2 separate regions of the Homo sapiens genome follow, and region 2 is linked to region 1. Evidence: promoter capture Hi-C in human tissues and cell types (Jung and others, 2019). All regions are on one chromosome and are shown on one strand. Each heading gives the region's core, a stretch centred on a gene start or on the middle of the fragment in contact. The rest is flanking DNA. Distances are from core to core; before and after follow the strand shown. Region 1 holds the start of KLK7 (kallikrein related peptidase 7). Region 2 has its middle 10 kb from the start of PPIAP59.

What was found. The method cuts DNA at HindIII sites, captures the fragments that hold promoters and counts their contacts. A contact is called where the count stands out against the background at its distance.
Region 2: a contact is called between a fragment that was not itself captured here and the fragment with the promoter of KLK7 in region 1, in 5 of the 25 tissues and cell types used here (lymphoblastoid cells, neural progenitor cells, pancreas and 2 more).

Annotation. Positions count from the first base shown.
Region 1 is chr19:50,981,626-50,987,591 of GRCh38, forward strand. It overlaps KLK7 (kallikrein related peptidase 7), which reads right to left and starts at 2,292. Exons shown (of 6, transcript NM_005046.4): 1 at 2,226-2,292; 2 at 702-832; 3 at 142-289. The coding sequence starts at 774. RefSeq lists an enhancer at 2,027-2,581. The HindIII fragment of the contact is 14,004 bases long and covers 1-2,477 here.
Region 2 is chr19:50,935,121-50,941,086 of GRCh38, forward strand. No RefSeq gene overlaps it. Among named protein-coding and RNA genes, the nearest start is that of PPIAP59, 10 kb to the left of the region's middle. RefSeq lists a silencer at 3,918-4,081. The HindIII fragment of the contact is 8,084 bases long and covers 1-5,966 here.

The sequences.
Region 1 (5,966 bases), core at 1,042-3,541:
GGGTACAGAGGCCCAGAGAGAGGAGGACAGAGACCCAGAGAGAGGAGAATAGAGCCGTAGGCACAGAAAGACTGCCCTTCCACCCCCATAGCGAGCTGGAGACGCTGGTGCACCTCCAGCAGAGACTTGGGCGGCACCTACTTCATCTTGCAGTGGGCGGCAGTGAGCACCCAGCGCTCATTGACCAGGACGCCTCCGCAGTGGAGCTGATTGCCACTGAGCAGGGCCACCTGCCATGGGTGGGAGCCTCTTGCACATGGGGCGCCATCAATAATCTTGTCACCCTGGGCTGGATGGAGACATGGAGGAGCACGTGGGTAGCTAGCATTAGGGGAAGGCTGAGGCTGCACCTCAGGGATTCCCAGAGTCAGAGATGGACAGAGACAGATGAAAATGTGTGGAGAAATACAGAGAAAGCAAGAGATAGGGATAGAGACAGACAGAAGGAGCCCACTCAGAAACCCAGGAGGCGCATCTCATCTGGGGAACCACAGAGAGACCCTGAGCACAGGAGGCAGGGCCTGGAGGGGACAGAGACCCCCTGAGTCAGCAGAAGCAGGAAGAGCGGGGGCTTCAGCCGACAGTCTGGTCCTCCCAGGATGGAAGCTGTTTGAGGAGGGAAGGGTTCTGACTCAGGGACTCCTTGGAGAGGGTCAGTGGGGGCCCTGAGGTGAGGTCAGACTTCCCAGTCCAGCTTTCACCTTCTTCTCCTGCAGTTTCCAAGGCTAAGGATAGCAGTAAGATCTGCAGGGGCAGGAGAAGGGATCTTGCCATGGTGCCCTGCTGAGCCGCTCAGGGGCTGCCAGGCGAGGAAGGGCCTCTCCTGCTGGAGCTGAGAAGGAGAAAGCATTCAGGCCCAGCCCCTCCCCACTCAGACCCAGGGGTCCAGGCCCCAGCCCCTCCCCCCACAGACCCAGGAGTCCAGGCCCCAGCCCCTCCTCCCTCAGACCCAGGGGTCCAGGCCCCAGCCCCTCCTCCCTCAGACCTAGGGGTCCAGAACCCCAGCCCCTCCTCCCTCAGACCCAGAAATTCCTTTCTCTGGCCTCTCCTTCCTTACACTCAGAAGTCCAGACCCCTAACCTCCTCCTCCCTCATACCCAAGAGTCCAGACCCTAGCACCTTCCTCCCTCAGACCCAGGAGTCCAGGCCCCCAGCCCCTCCTCCCTCAGACCTAGGAGTCCAGGCCCCCAGCTCCTCCTCCCTCAGACCTAGGAGTCCAGGTCCAAGTCCCTCCTCCCTCAGGCTCAGGAGTCCAGGCCCCAACCCCTCCTCCCTCAGACCCAGGAGTCCAGGCCCCCAGCCCCGCCTCCCTCAGACCTAGGAGTCCAGGCCCCCAGCTCCTCCTCCCTCAGACCTAGGAGTCCAGGTCCAAGTCCCTCCTCCCTCAGGCTCAGGAGTCCAGGCCCCAACCCCTCCTCCCTCAGACCCAGGAGTCCAGGCCCCAGCCCCTCCTCCCTCAGACCCAGGAGTCCAGGCCCCCAGCTCCTCCTCCCTCAGACCCAGGAGTCCAGGTCCCAGTCCCTCCTCCCTCAGACCTAGGAGTCCAGGTCTCAGTCCCTCCTCCCTCAGGCCCAGGAGTCCAGGCCCCAGCCCCTCCTCCCTCAGACCCAGGAGTCCAGGCCCCAGCCCCTCCTCCCTCAGACCCAGGAGTCCAGGCCCCAGCCCCTCCTCCCTCAGACCCAGGAGTCCAGGCCCCAGCCCCTCCTCCCTCAGACCCAGGAGTCCAGGCCCCAGCCCCTCCTCCCTCAGACCCAGGAGTCCAGGCCCCAGCTCCTCCTCCCTCAGACCTAGGAGTCCAGGTCCCAGCCCCTCCTCCCTCAGACCCAGGAGTCCAGGCCCCCAGCCCCTCCTCCCTCAGACCCAGGAGTCGAGACCCCCAGCCCCTCCTCCCTCAGACCCAGGAGTCCAGGCCCCCAGGCCCTCCTCCCTCAGACCCAGGAGTCCAGAACCCCAGCCCCTCCTCCCTCAGACCCAAAATTCCTGTTCTTCAGATCCCTAGAGACCCAGGAATCTAGGCTCCGATCTTGCCCTTCCCTGTGGAACCCAAACTTCTGACTCTGTAGTTCGTTTTTCCCTAAAAGGCCCCAAATTGCAGACTTCCAGGCCCTCACTGCTCAGGACCGGGAGTCTAGGCTGCAGCCCCTACCTCTCGAGAGCAGAGTCAGGCTTGGAGCCAGCATCACCCTCTCCCCTACAGGTGCACCCTTGATGAAGCCTCTTCTCACCTCGAGAGGATCTGATGTGATCCAAGTTCCGACTTGGGCTGGCACACAGCTGGGCTCCAAAATCTTCATCCCTCTGCTGGGCCGTCCTCTTATATCACCCCCCGCCCCATGCCCGGCCCCAGCGCCCTGGGGTGCAGGCGGAGCCGACTCTGGGACACCCCCGCCTGCATTTGCGGTTCTGGTTATCTGGAACCCTGACGCAGCGAGAGCAATTGGCACCACTGCACTCTCTCTCCACCCTCCCTCCGAAGGACGGGCGGTGCCCAGCTCCTGCGCCCCCGCACATTCTGGTCCCACAGTCCCTCCTGGCTGCTCTCGGGGGAGGGACCCGGTGCGCTGGGTCTGAGGGGCAGGAGCGGGATTCAAGCAGTCGCTGAGCTCAGAGAATAGGCTCTGGCTCGGGTCCTTCTCTGGGGCGGTTTTCTTTCTTTCTTCCCTCCTCCCTCCCTCCCTTCCTTTCTTTTTTTTGGATGGAGTCTCTCTCTATCGCCAGGCTGGAGTGCGGTGGCGCGATCTCGGCTCACTGCCAGCTCCGCCTCCCAGGTTCAAGTGATTCTCCTGCCTCAGCCTCCCGAGTACCTGGGATTACAGGCACGCACCACCACTCCCAGCTAATTTTTGTATTTTTAGTAGAGACCGGGTTTCACTATGTTGGCCAGAATGGTCTCGATCTCCTGACCTCATGATGTGCCCGCCTCGGCCCCGCAAAGTGCTGGGATTACAGGCGTGAGCCACTGCGCCCGGCTTCTGGGGCCATTTTCTTGCCCTCACCCCCTCTCAGGGGTGGCCTAGACCCTACATCCTAATTCTGGCCCGCCTGGGGGAACTTGTCCAAGCTGATCCCAGTCGTGCCTGTAATTACGCCTGAACCCATTCCCAACTCTAACAGAGAGGTGTAAGTTAAAAACAACGCTTTCCCTAACCCCACCCCACTAATATTTGCCATGTTTAGGATCTATGTTCTTATGGTCATTTTAATCATGTTATACATAGATTTCTTTGTATATTATGTATTTATAACAAAAATGTCTGTACTTAACATTATCTAATAGAACATTTTTGAGGGCTTCATTTATTAATTTATAAGCAAATATTTATTTTTCTTTTTTTAACTTTTCAGTTCGGGGGTACATGTGCAGGATGTGCAGGTTTGTTGCGTAGGTGAACGTGCGCCATGGGGGTTTGTTATACAGATTATTTAATCACCCAGGTATTAAGCCTAGTACCCATTAGTTATTTTTTTCTGATCCTCTCCTTCCTCCCACTCTCCACCCTCTCATAAGCCCCAGTGTGTGTACCCAAAGGAATATAAATCATTCTGTTTAAAGACACATGGACACGTACGTTCATTGTAGAACTATTGACAACAGCAAACACAGGGAATCAACCTAAATGTCCATCAGTGATAGACTGGATTAAGAAAATGTGGTACGTATACACAATTGAATACTACGTAGCCATAAAAAAGAACACGATCATGTCCTTTGTAGGGACGTGAATGGAGCTGGAGGCCATTACCCTTACAAACTAAAGCAGGAACAGAAAACCAGATATGGCATGTTCCTACTTACAAGTGGTAGCTAAATGATGAGACTGCATGGACACATAGAGGAGAGAAGAATCTTTCTTATTTTTTTTTTTTTTTGATGGACTCTGGCTCTGTCACCCAGGCTGGAGTGCAATGGCACGATCTCGGCTCACTGCAACCTCCACTCCCCCGTGTTCAAGTGATTCTCCTGCCTCAGAGTCCTGAGTAGCTGGATTACAGGCGTGCACCACCATGCCCAACTAATTTTTGTATTTTTAGTAGAGATGGGGTTTCACCATGTTGGTCAGGCTGCTCTCCAACTCCTGACCTCAGGTGATCCACCGGCCTCGGCCTCCCAAAGTACTGCGATTATAGGCCTGAGCCACCGCGCCCAGCCAAGGATTTTTGCTAAATGAGTAGATTATAGCTGCTCTTGCCACAGGGGAGGAAAATGGGTAACTATGTGAGATGATGGACATGTTCATTTGTTCAGCTATAGTAATCATTGTCCTATGTATATACATCGCATATGATCATATTGTACACTTTAAATATACACAATAACATTTATTTTTTAAAAAGAGGAAAACTTTTCCCTCTTTGTACATTTAGATTACTTTTCCTTCCTTTATAATGGTTGTGTAATATTCCATACTATACTTGTATCATGATGCATGTCATCTGCCTCAAATTGAAATACACTTGGATAGTTTTAATTATAATAATGCTGAGATGAACTTCTTTGTACATTCATCTTTGTTCATTGTAGTCATTCAAACAGCATCCATTGAGCATCTACTCTGTGCCAGAAACTATTCAGGCTCTTGGAGACACAGCAGTGATAAAACAGAGAAAAATTTCTGTCTTCATAGAGGTTTTTGTTTTGTACTGTCAGGTCAGCACAAAAATAAGCAAATAAAATGTAGAGTTTGTTAGGTGGTTGTAAGCGCTATAAGGGAAAATCCAAGCAAGGAAGAGGGTTGGGGAGTTACTGATTCCCTCTACCCTCGAGGATCCCTGAGGTTATAATATCAGGAAGGTTGGCTGCAAAGACCCCACGTGAAGGTGATATTTGAGCAAAGTCTTGAAGGAGATGGTGGAGGGATCCAGGTGGCTGCTTGAAGGTAGTGAGTTCCAGGCAAAGCGAGCAGGCAGGTGTGTTAGCCAAGGAGCATATCTGAAGTGCCTCAGCAGACAAATCACTGCGACCAATACAGAGTGACCAAAGGAGATGAGGGCAGGTGATGAGGCCAGAAATATAACAGGACTCTGATGACATGCGGTCTGAAAGGTCTTTGGCTTTTATTTTGAGTAAGACAGGAACCATTGTTGGACACACTTCTAAAGTTGGAATTGACCTCAACCTCTAAATTATATCCCCAAAATGGGATTTATTTCTCCACCCTGGACCTAAAACTTATCTCAATCCTGACCCCAACTCAATTCTTTTTTTTGCTTTGTTTTGTTTTGTTTTTGTTTTTGAGATGGAGTTTTGATCTTATTGCCCAGGCTGGAGTGCAGTGGTGCGATCTCAGCTCACTGCAATCTCCGCCTTCCAGGTTCAAGCAATTCTCCTGACTCAGCCTCCCGAGTAGCTGGGATTACAGGCATGTACCATCACACTTGGCTAATTTTTTTTTTTTTTTTTTTTAGTAGAGATGGGGTTTCTCCATGTAGGTCAGGCTGGTCCCTAACTCCCGACCTCAGGTGATCTGCCTTCCTCAGCCTCCCAAAGTGCTGGGATTACATGTGTGAGCCACCACGCCTGGCACCCCAACTCGATTCTACATTTGACCCATAATAGTAGACATTATTGTTGTGTCCCCAGGCATTCACTCCTTCTGCCTTTCTATCAGAGGCTCCATTTTGTTTGGATAATACTTTATCCTCATCAGGACTATAAGCCTCAATGAACCAAGCATTGAAGCCATATTTCGTTTGCTTAATTAGTTGGAAAATGGACATGTGCTGTTCTTCTGGCCAATGAGGAGGAGGGGAAGACCACTGAGGCACTTCTAGGAAAGACTTTCTCATTTTCAAAAAGAGGCACTGAAAGGGGACTTTTTTCTTCTGCTAGATGGTGTCTTTTCTGGATGCAAATTCTGGAACTGTGGCAGCACCCCAGGGACCACAGAGGGAAGTGACCAGAGGACTAAGTCAAAACACTGCAGGTAGCCCACCAGAGAGGTGAGGATCAGCTGGGTCTTTGATGA
Region 2 (5,966 bases), core at 2,449-4,948, 45 kb before region 1:
CGATAGAGTCTTCAAAAAAATAAAAAAATAAATAAAATAAATATATATTCACCATGATTTTTTCTATTAATTTTATAATATTATCTTTCAGTGGTCTTTAATACAGCTGGAATCCAATTTCATGTGTAGTATTAGAAATCTAGGTTTCTTTTTCTCTGCACAGCAGACGAGTTTTTCTAATGCCACTTACTAAATATACCATCATTCTCCCACTAATTTGTGTTGATATTTTATCTTATATTAAGTCCCTAATATATTATATGATGATACATCAGTTTCCTATGATTCTCTTTCTGGGACCTCTCTCCTGCCTCTCTGGTCTACTTGTCTGTTCTTGCACTGATCCCACCCTTTTTTAAAAACACTGATTTTGTTTTGTAGCATGTCTTAATATCGAGTAGGGCGAGGAGCTTATTTCTTGCACCGCCACAGCCGCATTTTTCTCACCACTTACATCACCATGCAGGAAATACACTGATCTCCTCCACCCTTAATGGGAACAATTTACAGACATCTGTCCCCTCCTGGTTCTGGATCCAGCCTCCATGTTAAAAAGACATCTTCATCCAGGAAAAGAAAGTCAAGGCTGCCCAGGAAAATCTGCACAATGTCTTAGCTCATCTTTCAGTTTCCAGAAGCTTCATTTCCCATACCATCCTCTCTATATCGGCATATAGAAAACCAACTACGGTAGCCCGGACACCCAAGATTGTATTCTGCCTGTTCCAAGCCCAGATGTAGGAAGTCCATGCATGGAGCTCCGAAGGAAATCATCAGAAATGTGAGCTGCTTTCTGTAATCCCATCTTTATCCTGCGGCTTTTATTCTCATCATGCAAGGTGGCTGGTCCGTCTCCAGGCACCCATATTCCAGGTGAGAAGAGGTGGAAGGGAAGGTCCAAAGGTCCAAACATTACTCTCTCTCTCCTATTTATTTATTTATTTATATTTTTTATTTTTTTAAGACAGAGTCCTGCTCTGTCGCCCAGGCTGGAATGCAGTGGTGCGATCTCGGCTCACTGCAACTTCCACCTTCCGGGTTCAAGCAATTCTCCTGCCTCAGCCTCCTGAGTAGCTGGGATTACAGGTGCCCACCACTGTGCCCAGCTAATTTTTGTGTTTTTAGTAGAGATGGGGTTTCATCATGTTGGCCAGGCTGGTCTCGAACTCCTGACCCCGTGATCCACCTGCCTCGGCCTCCCAAAGTGCTGGGATTATAGGTGTGAGCCACCACACCCAGCCTACTCTTTCTCTTTTATCAGCAAAACAAAAACTTTCCCAGAAACTCCAGCTTTGTCTTCTTGCTTATAACTGGATGACATGGCCACCCGGATGTATCCAGGTCATATGCCAATCTGAGCAATACTCGGGCTCGTCAGTAATGCAGTGGGAAGAATGATAAGCACATCTCAGTTGCACCCAGCTTGCCCTGTGCCAAGTCAGACAAGTCACAAAACACCAACCTCTGCCTCTTAGTCCACACACATCTCCCCTCTGTTCGCCTGTTTGCCCTTGAGCCTGAACTTGATGGGAAAATGCATCCAGGCTCTGCCATTAGCAACAATCAGCGTGGGGATAGTGCTTGCATCTTTGGTGGGCAGAGAACCAAGCACACTGTTTCTCCTAAACTCTTGGTTTATTTTTCTTGAGACAGGGTCTGGCTTTGTTGCCCAGGCTGGTCTCGAACTCCTGGGCTCAAGCAATCCTCCTGCCTCAGCCTCTGAAGTAGTTGGGATTACAGGTGTGAGCCACCATGCCCGGCCTCTCTTCTTTTCATCACGGTTGTAGCAATTGTTCCACAAGTGTATTACCTTTACAACTGTTAAAGAAACTAGAAACTATCCAAATGTCTCCTCATAGTAAAAAAATGGCTCAATAAATCGGAGTACATTTACACAATGGTATACTGTGCAACGATGAGAATAAAACATTTACAACCATAAACAAAAACCTGGGCGGACCACACAATATATAATACTGAGAAAAAAAAAAGCCCAACACAAAATAATATAAGACACTCATTGCTTTTTTTGTTTGTTTGTTTTTTTGTTTTTTTAGACAAAGTCTCACTCTGTCACCAGGCTGGAGAGCAGTGGCACGATCTCAGCTCACTGCAACCTCTGCCTCCCAGGTTCAAGCAATTCTCCTGCCTCAGCCTCCCAAGTAGCTGGGATTACAGGTGCATGCCTCCATGTCCGGCTAATTTTTGTATTTTTAGTAGAGACGGGGTTTCACCATGCTGGCCAGGATGGTCTCGATCTCTTGACCTCGTGATCCACTCGGCTCAGCCTCCCAAATGATTTATTTATATAAACTTATTATACTTCTATATGTCTATGTAAATAAATTTATATTTATATGTTGTTCATAAATGGGACAAATTAATTTATGGTGATAGAAGTCACAAAAGTTGCTACACTTGGGGAGAAGTCATGAAAGTCGCTACCCTTGCAGGCGAGGGATTTAGGTAGTAATGGAAGCGGCTACATTTGGCAGGGGAGGTAGTGACTGCAAGGAAGACCCCACTGGTTTTTCTGAGGAGATGCTTAGGTTCCGTGGCTCTGTCTGAATGCTGGTTACAAGGGTGTGTTCTGTTTTGTGAAACTTCACTGCCATTTATGATACTTCTGTGCATGTTTCTTTCTTTCTCCTTTCTTTCTTTCTTTCTTTCTTTCTTTCTTTCTTTCTTTCTTTCTTTCTTTCTTTCTTTTTTTGTTTCTTGAGACAGTCTCATTCTGTCATCTAGGCTGGAGTGCAATGGCGTGATCTTGGCTCACTGCAATCTCCACCTCCCAGGTTCAAGCGATTCTCTTGCCTCAGCCTCCCGAGTAGCTGGGATTACAGGTGCCCACCACCGAGCCCGGCTAATTTTTGTATTTTTAGTAGAGACAGGGTTTCGCCACATTGGCCATGCTGGTTTCGAACTCCTGACCTCAGGTAATCCACCCGCCTCGGCCTCCCAAAGTGCTGGGATTACAGGTGTGAGCCACCATGCCCGGCCCTGTGCATTATCTTTCAATAAAAGTTAATTTAAAATATTGCTGCAAGGGCATCTATGGGGCAGACATCATTGGTTGTTCCTCCCGTTCTTTGATGTCGGAATCCTGATTTCTCTCAAGGAGCAGCTTCTACATGCTTTAGGGGAGGTCCTCCACTCCATCGTGAAAGAATAATCCTGTTTGGTTCAAATCAACCATGTTAACCTCTCCACCCCACTCCCCACCCCACCCCACCAGTCTGTGACTGGTTTAGGAAAGGACATGTGACCCAATTCTGGCCAGTAAGAATAAGATAAAATTCTGCTGGGGTGGTTTCTGGAAAAGCATCATCCTTCTCAAAGACAGACCCACTACGGGTGTTGATCTTAAGGATGATGACCCCCCGCCGAGGAGAACCAAGCGAAACACAGCCTGACGCCCTGTGTCTGGAGCTGCCCTTACCTGGATTTCTTGATATGTGAAATTAAAACTTATTTACTATTGAAGCCAGCATGAATCTTCTCTTGTTCCTCAAAGCAGCTTAACCGGAAACATCATTTTGGAAAATGTGCTCAAGACTGCCCCTTAGCTAGGATTCTGCTCCTATCTAGATTTTTTTAAGATTAAGAAAAAAAAAATTGAGGCCAGATGGCTCACGCCTGTAATCCCAGCACTTTGGGAGGCTGAGGTAGGCAGATCACCTGAGGTCAGGAGTTCGAGACCAGTGTGGCCAACATAGCGAAACCCTGTCTCTACTAAAAATACAAAAATTAGCCAGGCATGGTGGCTCACACCTATAGTCCCAGCTACTCAGGAGGCTGAGGCATGGGGATTGCTTGAACTGGGGAGGTGGAAGTTGCAGTGAGCCGAGAATACGCTACTGCACTCCAGCCTGGGTGACAGAGTGAGACTCTGTCTAAAGAAAAACAAAAACAAAAAACAAACATTGAATTACAACTGTCACCCAGTACTATTTGCCCCTATTTTCACACCACACCACACACCCTGGCAGCCCAGTCTTTCTGGAATGTCCCCTAAAAAGTCGTGAGGACTTGTAAATGGCTAGGCACAAAGGGGAAGATAAAGGTGACAATTATTGGATCATTTTGATGTATGTGTCCTTCTCTCACACCTTTGACTGTTCATCAGGCAGACACTTCTTATCTCTTCTTCCTTGCTGGTAAGGACTGCACCCGTGACAGAGAAATGTCAGAAACTCACTTTCTCAGCTTCTCTTGAAGCTAGAGTGTCAGCATTGGGACCTTCTCCAATGAGTGGTCATTGAGACCCAAGAACAGATCCAGGGGTGTGGGGGGACTCTGGAAAAGACTTTCTTTCCTAATGAAGAGAGCTCTGCCAACAGAGTCTCTCCTTCCTGCCTTTTGTCATGGTGCGTGAGGATGTGATGTCTGGAGCTGTGGCAGCCATTTTACAGCCACGAGATTACAAGCCTAAAGGAGAAAGCTGACATATTTTCTTCTTCCTGCTAGAACATAAGCTTAAGGAAGGCAGGGGTTTGGTGTCTGTTTTATTAATCAGTCTATCCCAAGTGTCTATAATATTACTTGGCTCTCATAGGTGCTCATGAGTTGAATAAATATATGAATGAATGAATGCAGAGGGCAGTAGAGAAGAAAGATGGGTCCCTAATGATGTAATGTAGGAATCACCAAACCACAGTACTTCCCTCTTTTGGGGCTTCTTATTATGTGAAATAATACACGTCCTTATTGCTTAACCCACTTTGAGTTGGGTATTTTGTTACTGACAAAATTTTCTAGTGTAATTCCTTTTCTAGAGTGTTCAATTTCCAAAGTATTCCCTGGAGTGACTTTCTATAACCACCTGTGAGTATCTTGAGAAATCTTAGAGCTGGATTGGCACGTGGAGATCATTACGTTTCAATCCTCCCATTTTACAGGTAGAGAAACTGAGGTCCAGAAAAAGTACAAATGACCTTTACACAGGTCACTCAGAAAGTGCTGAAGACTAGAATGTCCATGTGTTGATGTGTTGTCCATTTCAATGACTACCACGCCCACAACCTTCTTAGGGGCCCTGCCCTGCCCACTGCTATGGATGAAGGGGTGGCTGGGGGATCCATGTTGCACTCTGTGGGCCCACCTTTCAGACTAGAGATAGAGTCTGCATCTGACCCTAGGACAGCCAACCAGATTTTTTCTCTAGGGGCTATGAACAAAGAAAACCCAGTAACTGGAGCCAGTTATGGGGGAGAGAAGAGATGCTTTGATAGGCAACAGGCAGTCAATGTAATGAGAAAACAGAGGTGGGATGAGAAGAAAGAGACCGTGAAAGACACATACCTAGGGGAGAAGGGATAGAGATCCCACAGGCAGCTGCTTCTGCCCTGACATTTTCCAATTTAAATTAATGGATATTCTTTTGATAACTGATATGGCCTGGCCCTGTGTCCCCACCCAAATCTCATCTTGGATTTTAATTTGAATCATAATCCCCACGTGTTGGGGGTGGGATCTCATGGGAGGTGATTAGATCATGGGGACAGTCCCCCCATGCTATTCTTGTGATAGTAGTGAGTTCTCACAAGATCTGATGGTTTTATAATTTTCCCCCTTCAGTTTGCCCTTCTCCTTTCGGCCACCCTGTGAAGAAGGACATGTTTGGTTCCCCTTCTACCATGATCGTAAGTTTTCTGAGGCCTCCCCAGCCATGCTGAACTATGAGTCAATCAAACCTCTTTCCTTTATAAATTACCCAGTCTTAGGTAGTATCTTTGCAGCAACTTGAGAATGGACTAATACAATAACCTACCTCCCGTTTCTACCCTGGCCAACAAGCAGCTCCAGTTTGTTCTCCACAAAGAGCCAGAATGTTCTCCTTTGTGCATGAACCAGATCCGGCTGGAAAACCTCCAATGACTTCCCAAATTCTCAGAGAAAACAAACAAGTGTCCAGCTCTATGGGTCTTCTTTCAGCTCCTGGAGAATGTCCAGCATGCTCCAATCTC